2 separate regions of the Homo sapiens genome follow, and region 2 is linked to region 1. Evidence: promoter capture Hi-C in 16 types of primary human blood cells and fetal thymus (Javierre and others, 2016). All regions are on one chromosome and are shown on one strand. The core of a region is centred on a gene start or on the middle of the fragment in contact, and the rest is flanking DNA. Distances in the headings are between cores, read along the strand shown. Region 1 holds the start of SPHK1 (sphingosine kinase 1). Region 2 overlaps RNF157 (ring finger protein 157).

Evidence for each region. Contacts are between HindIII fragments. The CHiCAGO score rates a contact against its expected background, and 5 or more counts as called.
Region 2: a fragment that was not itself captured here is called in contact with the fragment with the promoter of SPHK1 in region 1 in 1 of 17 cell types (M1 macrophages); the score reaches 5.1 in M1 macrophages.

What each region holds. Positions count from the first base shown.
Region 1 is chr17:76,382,343-76,385,858 of GRCh38, reverse strand. It overlaps SPHK1 (sphingosine kinase 1), which reads right to left and starts at 1,250. Exons shown (of 6, transcript NM_001142601.2): 1 at 1,053-1,250; 2 at 205-408. The coding sequence starts at 214. RefSeq lists silencers at 883-1,582, 2,163-2,302, 2,323-2,612. The HindIII fragment of the contact is 9,575 bases long and covers 1-3,516 here.
Region 2 is chr17:76,148,207-76,151,722 of GRCh38, reverse strand. All of the region lies in intron 18 of RNF157 (ring finger protein 157), which reads left to right. All of the region lies in intron 6 of RNF157-AS1 (RNF157 antisense RNA 1), which reads right to left. Among named protein-coding and RNA genes, the nearest start is that of FOXJ1, 8.7 kb to the right of the region's middle. The HindIII fragment of the contact is 1,711 bases long and covers 867-2,577 here.

The DNA of each region.
Region 1 (3,516 bases), core at 1-2,500:
CGGCCTTTGCTGGGAGACCTGGGGTGGGGACGCGGCGCCCCTGCCACCCCCTTCCTTGGCTCAGATTCGGCCGGCTTCTGGCCTCGTGAGGGATAATGTTTCTCCCGATCGTCCACAGCCCCTTTCGTCCAGCTGGGCGTTCCATCATTCCTGGCGAGGAACAGGAATCCCCCTACAGCCCTTCCCAGCAGGAACCCCACAAACCTGGATCCATAACCTCGACCCGCGGCTCCCGCTGCCAGGGGGTCCCTGGCGCTGTGGGGGCGCTGCCCGTGGCGGCGGCTCCTGCCTTCAGCTCCTTATCGGTGCTGCCCAGGCGGGCGTCGCAGGGCCGGCTGTGGGGCTCGCCTTCCCCGCCCGGAGCCGTGGCTGCAGGAGCACCGGCGTCATTCCCTGCGGCGGCTGGACCTGAGGGAGAGAAGACAGCGCTGGCGGAGTCCGGGGCCGCAGCTGCCAGAGGTGGGGAGCGCCCGACTAAATCCCGGGACCACGCGCGGGGAGCCAGGTTCCCGGGAAGTCCAGAGAGCTGAGGTCCGGTGCCTCCGAGGGCGCCCCCGCCGTGTGACTAAGCCTACAATCCCTGAGAAGGGCGCCTGCTCCGGGGCTTTCTCCCTGGGGCTTGGGGTTCGGTTCCGGCCCGACGGATGAGTCAGAGCCCCGTGGCTCCCTCCGACGGACTAGCTCCTCACCCCTCGGGGCTGCCAGGGGGAGGGGAGTCCAGCTGCGTAAAAATCCCAGAACTTGAGCGGACATTGCTGGGCACGAAGTTCTGGGAGAGGATCCCTGCCCCAGCCATCCAGGTTGCCGTGTCCCCTGCCCGGAGCTCCAGAGCGGTGGGAGCCGCGGCGCGCGCTTCTCAGGGCCCCGCTCCGTTGCGACGCGCGCGGCGCTCGTGGGAGCCGCTCCCGGGTCGCGCCAAAGCCAAGCCCGAACCGGGCCACCAGCTGCCGCCTGCTCTCGCCCAAGCGACAAGTGGCCCAGTTCCCGGGGCCCCGCGAGGGCGGGCCGCACAGGAGCCACGAGCGGCGCGAAGGCAGGGTGGGCGGCCCTACCCAGTCGGTCCGGTTTGCTGGGGAGGCGCCACCGCCGTTCCCTACAGTGGCCTGGGGCGGAACGCAGCTCGTCCCAAGCTCAGCCCACGTCTGAGGGACTGGAGCGCCCCGCTGGAGCGGACTCCCCGGCCTCGCTCCCTCCGGCCTCAAACTTTTCGCTCAACTTCGCAGCCGGCGCCGCGGAGCGGGGAGGGCACTGAGCCTCGGCGCCGGCCTGGCTCCGCCCCGCGCTCCCGGGGGTGGAACCTGAGCCCGGCGCGGCCTCGGCCTCTGCCCGCCTCCGGCCTCAGCGCGCCGCCTCCGGCACGGCCCGCGCCCACGGCCGGGCCACGAGCTGGTTCCCGCCCGGGTCCTAGGAAGCGGCAAGCGCGCCCCCGCCGCTCGTCCTAGGCGTCTGGCTAGAAGGCGGCGCCGCGACCTGGCCGGGTGAGCTGAGGCGGCAGGCCGCGAGGCGCGGAGTCCCGGGCCCGGCCGCGAGCGCAGTGTCTGGGGCGCGCGAAAGCGACCGCGCAGCGCAGACGGAGGCGCGGGCTCCGCGCGAACTCGTGTCGGAGCGAGCGCCGGGCGCGCGCGGCTCCGCTCTCCCGGGGGACCCTTGGTTTCACCTCGACGCCACGACCTCGCCCCCGCGGGTGCTGTCGGCGCCGGGATGCAGCGCCCCTTTTGCGCGCTCTGCCCTAGCCCACCCGAAATTCGAGGCCCGCACGCCACCCGGGGCGCCTCTCCAGGCCGGGGCGTCTCGCCCGCCGCCCACCAGCTTCCCTCTTTCTTCCTCCCCCGCGCTCCCACGGAGGTTATTTTTAACTTCCCGACGCTGCAGCTGGGCTACCGAGCCTGAGGCCGCCTAGCGCGCTGTCCCGGGTAGAGCAGGCGACAGGCCGGGGGCTCCGAGCCGGAGAGGAGGCTTGACAGTGTAGATGGGCCTGGGGGCCCCCGTCGGGATTGGAAAGCCAAGCATGTGGTACGTGCCCCCCGCCCCCTCTGGCTCAGCGTGAAGAAGGGGCGCCGGAAACGCGCTCAGAAGTTGTCACTTCTTTGGAGGCCAGTAGGGACGCGTTTGTCAGTGTGTTTGTGATACACTTATCGCGGCAAGCCACAGAACGTGTCCGCGAGCACCTCGAGTTAGATCCCTGGGGGGTTACGGCGGAGACGGAGGAAGAAGTTGCCAAGGCCCATTGGTGACCTGCCCAGGTAGGGCCAGAGTTAGGAGAAACCAAGCCCCTGCGGGAGGCTGCGGGGCTCGCGCGCCCCCGCCGGCCCCACCCGCCCCCACACACCTCTCTCATCGCTTCTTAAAGTCGAGAAGAGGCAGGTCCAGGAGGAGCACGCAGCCAATTAGCCGGGCGGCGCCCTGAACTCCGGCACGCCTCCGCGGTGTCTTCTCTTCCGGAGGACCCAGGCAGCTCGGCCCCGTTTCCCAACACTTGGGGGGTCAGACGGGCGGGACCCGAGAGTCCCCGGGCGGGTCGGGGGGCACTGGCTGGGACGCGGGGTCCCTGGGGCCGCAGCTCCGCGCGCGTATCGGCGGGTGCGCCTTCGCCTTGCGCGGCCCCCGGGCAGTCCCCGCTGGGTCCAGAGCGTCCCGAGCGCGTTCCGGGAAGGTGACTCAGCGACGCGCTCAGGGGTCGAAAAACTCCGAGAAACAGGAACGAGGGGAGGGAGCAGGGGCGTCATCCCCGACTCCTGGCGTCGCGGCGCGTGTCGGAATGATGGGTCCTGCACCTCCGAGCCCCCCACCCCCTTGCTCCAGGAATCCGGCGCGGGCGGGGGAGAGAGCCCTGCAGCCGCAGTGCCGCGGTCATGCGCTGCGGGGACGCGAGCGGCGGCTGTGGGAGGAGGGGGCTCCGCGCGGGAGCCCAGGACCAGATCCGTCCGCCCCTCCCCTCTCCTCTGCCTTCTTCCCCTCCTCTTCCTCCAGCGAGGGACTTTGGTGCCTAGAAAACGCGAATCGGAGGCTGTGCTCCCCGAGATCTCAGCCTTCGAGGGTACTGGCTGCGGAGATTAGCTGGGGCAGCCTTCCCCGTCTGCTCCCCGCCCCGGAGAGCATTTCCACCAAATCTGAAAAGCTCTGTCATTAGCCATAGAGTCTGAAGAGGGGAAACTGAGGCACAGGGAAGCACTGTGAGTTCGTGGTGATAAAGCCCACCTGGTTCAGGGTCCCCCCTTTTTTTTTCCTCCTGGGGCCCCAGAAAGGTCGGATCCTGCGCCTCCAGGCCCACTACCACCAGCCTTGAGTCCGCGGAGCGGGCGGGGGCGGGGTTGACTGCAAACTGAGTTGGCAAGGGGAGGCGGGGCACGGGCTCTTTATCCAACGCCTCCGGGCCCCAGCTCCCCTCCTGGCTCTGGAAGGCCCCGCGGGAGGGAGGCGAAGGGCAAAGCCCTCTGGCCCCGGTTCCAGGCCGCACAATGGGTCCTCTGTCCTCCCTGGCGCCTAACCCCCTGCCCCCCTCACCTCCAAGGCCTT
Region 2 (3,516 bases), core at 473-2,972, 230 kb after region 1:
TCCTCATGATGCTAAACCAAATCTAGGTAATGCCTTACACAGGATCATGTTAATCACACTTTAAGCACCGAGTGCCTTTTTAGTTAGTGTGCCCGTTCAAGGGCTCCAAAAACTGCTTTTCTAAAATCCACATCTTGCCCAAGCGGACTGAGTCAAATGTCCCCTCCGGGTTTCACGACAGAAATTGTCCTTCACATCGTGTTGTTTGAATCCTCTTAAACATTCCCTGAACGAAGACTCACTTCAGCTTCAGAACAGCCACATCACGGGTCCAGTGCTTTACTCGCTCAGCGACGTGGCTGGAGGCGTTGGAGCCACACGACCTCTGTGGTTGCCACTCTCCATCAGCCTGTGCAAGACACAGTCCAAGCACACTCTGGCCCCACACAAGCTTGTGGCAGGGGAAGCTGGAATTCTCTAGAGATACTTTCTCCAGCCCTTCAAAGGGCTTTCTTGAGTCATTTTCTATTTAGTTTGTTCTAAAGACACTGCCCAGGCCTCTTCATTTTCAGTGAGACCAAAAGAGGCAGTATCAGTTCCCCTGCTTCTCCTGCGCAGGCCCAGGGAAGACCCCCTTCCTGCCTGAGCGTGGAGGAGGGAGCGTTGACCACGGGGCCAGCCTCCTGCCAGTTAGGCCTGGACTGGAGCTGCTGGGGCCCAGGGGCTGCTTCACTCCCTGCCTTCCCGCTCCTGGCCTGGCTTCCATCTGTCCATTTGTGTTTCACATCATTTTGCCAAATGTAAATCTGTCTGTCTGGTTTGTTTATTTTCTAAACTCATGTATGTTCTCTAGACTTGGTATGAAAGTTCGTGTTCACTCCGTGCCAGCACTGTCCTCCCTGCCAATGCTTCACCCCGTCCAAGCTTGCTGGGCACGCACACACCTGGGAGGCGCTCGCGTGGGGCTGTGAGCAAGGCTCCCATTCCTAATTGGCAAGGGCCTGTATCCAGGGTACTAAGAGCTTATGAGAAAAAATATTTGTGAGACTGTATTAATTTCTGCTTTACAAAAATGGGAATGCTTCTGTGGCAAGGGCTATGGAAAGGATTTGGTTTTAACTGGCATCCTCTGTCAGTAGTTGGGTGAAGATGATGTCTCTTTCTTAGCTGTGCCCTGTGTCTGAGGCAGCTCTACCCTGGTCAACCCCTTACTTGGCTTTAGGAGAGAAATTTAGGTTCCTGCCTCCCTCAAGGGACTCCCTTACCCACCCCTATTTTTTTGGCAGAGGGAGCTGCTGGGAGTTGTTTTAGCCAACAGTGCTAGTGGAAACAGCTTATTCCTCCTCTTCCTGACTCCCTCCAGCTAACCTGCTTGTTGATAGTTACTCCATGGAATCATGGGAGGAGAGTGAGGACTGGGAGGAAGAGAGAAGCCCTGGGGTTCCCTAGGGTGACTTGTGGAGCCAGCTATTTAGAGATTATGGTGGGCTCACAGTTTGTGCCAGACACGAAATCAAATGCCTGTGTTGGCTCTCGGGAGAGGGCCTCAGGTATAGGCATGTTAAGTGTCCCATTATATCCTCACCAGAGGCCTCAAGATGAGGGGCTGTATTCAATATACTAAGATTTTCCAAGAAAAAAAATATGTGTGAGACTATATGGATTTCTGTTCAGTAAAAATGGGAACGCTTCTGTGGCAAGGACAATGGAAAGGATTTGAGTTTTTTTGTTTTTGTTTTTTGTTTTTTTTGAGACAGAGTCTCGCTCTGTCGCCCAGCCTGGAGTGCAGTGGCGCGATCTCGGCTCACTGCAACCTCCACCTCCTGGGGTCAAGTGATTCTCTGCCTCAGCCTCCTGAGTAGCTGGGATTACAGGCGCCCGCCACCACGCCCGGCTAATTTTTGTATTTTTAGCAGAGACGGAGTTTTACCATGTTGGTCAGGGTGGTCTTGAACTCCTGACCTCAGGTGATCTGCCCACCTCGGCCCCCCAAAGTGCTGAGATTACAGGTGTGAGCCACTGCGCCCAGCCATGATTTGTTTTTAATTGGCATCCTTGGTCAGTAGTTGGGTGAAAGTGATGTCTCAAAACCTCTGGTTGCCTTTTTACTTGAGAGGGAAAAGCACGTCTCTCTAGGCAGAATGTGTCTCTGCTTCCACTGTTAGCATCACACTGGCAGAAAATTTGCTGGAGAACTCTCTGGAAGTGTCTGCTAGGTTACAGACAGGAATATCCACTTTGGTAGGTCCCGTGGAATAAATAGGCGTCTTCACACTCAGCTGTAAGTTCAGCTTTCTATCCTGGGGCTGAGATACCACTGGCCGTCTTGGCGCCTCATTGCTCCTGTGGCCAGCTCTCTCCCGTCAGAACAGCTGCACATGCGCCTGGTCTCTGCTTGAGTCTATTTCCCTCTTCAAGTGGGTGCCACTCCCTTCATGGAGGGCCAGTGGGAAATGGAGCCCGGGCTGCATCCCATGTTGTCCCTGTGCCCTGCACCTTGCTCACGGGCTCTGCCAGGAGACCTGGCTGGTGGCAAGGACTGCGAACCTTGTTGGTTCCCGTCCTCACCACTCTGATAACACTGGTGAGGGGCTTAGAGGCACTTTTGTCATTCTAGCCCTCTCCCCCTAAGAAGCTTCTGGGTCTTCCAGGGCCCCAAGACCAAGGGTGGATTTTTGGTTTTTCACTGGGGAGTAGTGTGTTCTGAGATTCCTTCTGAAAGGAATAAAGGAAGGAGATCTCAGTTGATGGGTGTGACAGGTTGTAGTAAGACTAGAATTGCGAGACCACGCTAAGCAGATGTGGCTCTGAGGAGTTTGGCAGACTGTTACATAGGTGGCAGGAAAGTCATCGTGGCAAGTGATAGTTCTATGAAGGCCCTGGGGTAGTCAGTGATGGAAAAAGGCAAAGATAGGCCGGGCACAGTGGCTCACGCCTGTAATCCCAGCATTTTGAGAGGCTGAGGCAAGTGATCACTTGAGCCCAGGAGCTGGAGACCAGCCTGGGCAATGCAGTGAAACCCCATCTCTACAGAAAATACAAAAATTAGCCAGGCTTGGTGGCGTACGCCTGTGGTCCCAGATACTCGAGAGGCTGAGGCAGGAGGATCAATTGAGCCTGGGAACCGGAGGTTGCAGGGAGTCAAGATCACACCACTGCACTCCAGCCTGGGAGGCTGAGATGGAGTGAGACTCCATCTTAAAAAAAAAAAAAAAAGGCGGGGCACGGTGGCTCCCGCCTGTAATCCCAGCACTTTGGGAGGCCGAGATGGGCGGATCACAAGATCAGGAGATCGAGACCATCCTGGCTAACACGGTGAAACCTCATCTCTACCAAAAATACAAAAAAATTAGCCAGGCGTGGTGGCGAGTGCCTGTAGTCCCAGCTACTCAGGAGGCTGCGACAGTAGAATGGCGTGAACCCGGGAGGCGGAGCTTGCAGTGAGCCGAGGTCACGCCACTGCACTCCAGCCTGGGCGACAGAGCAAGAGACCCTGTCTCAAAAAAAAAAAAAAAAAAAAAGGCAAAGATAATTTGGATCTTTTTAGTGGAAATACCAATACAATTTTTAAATGAC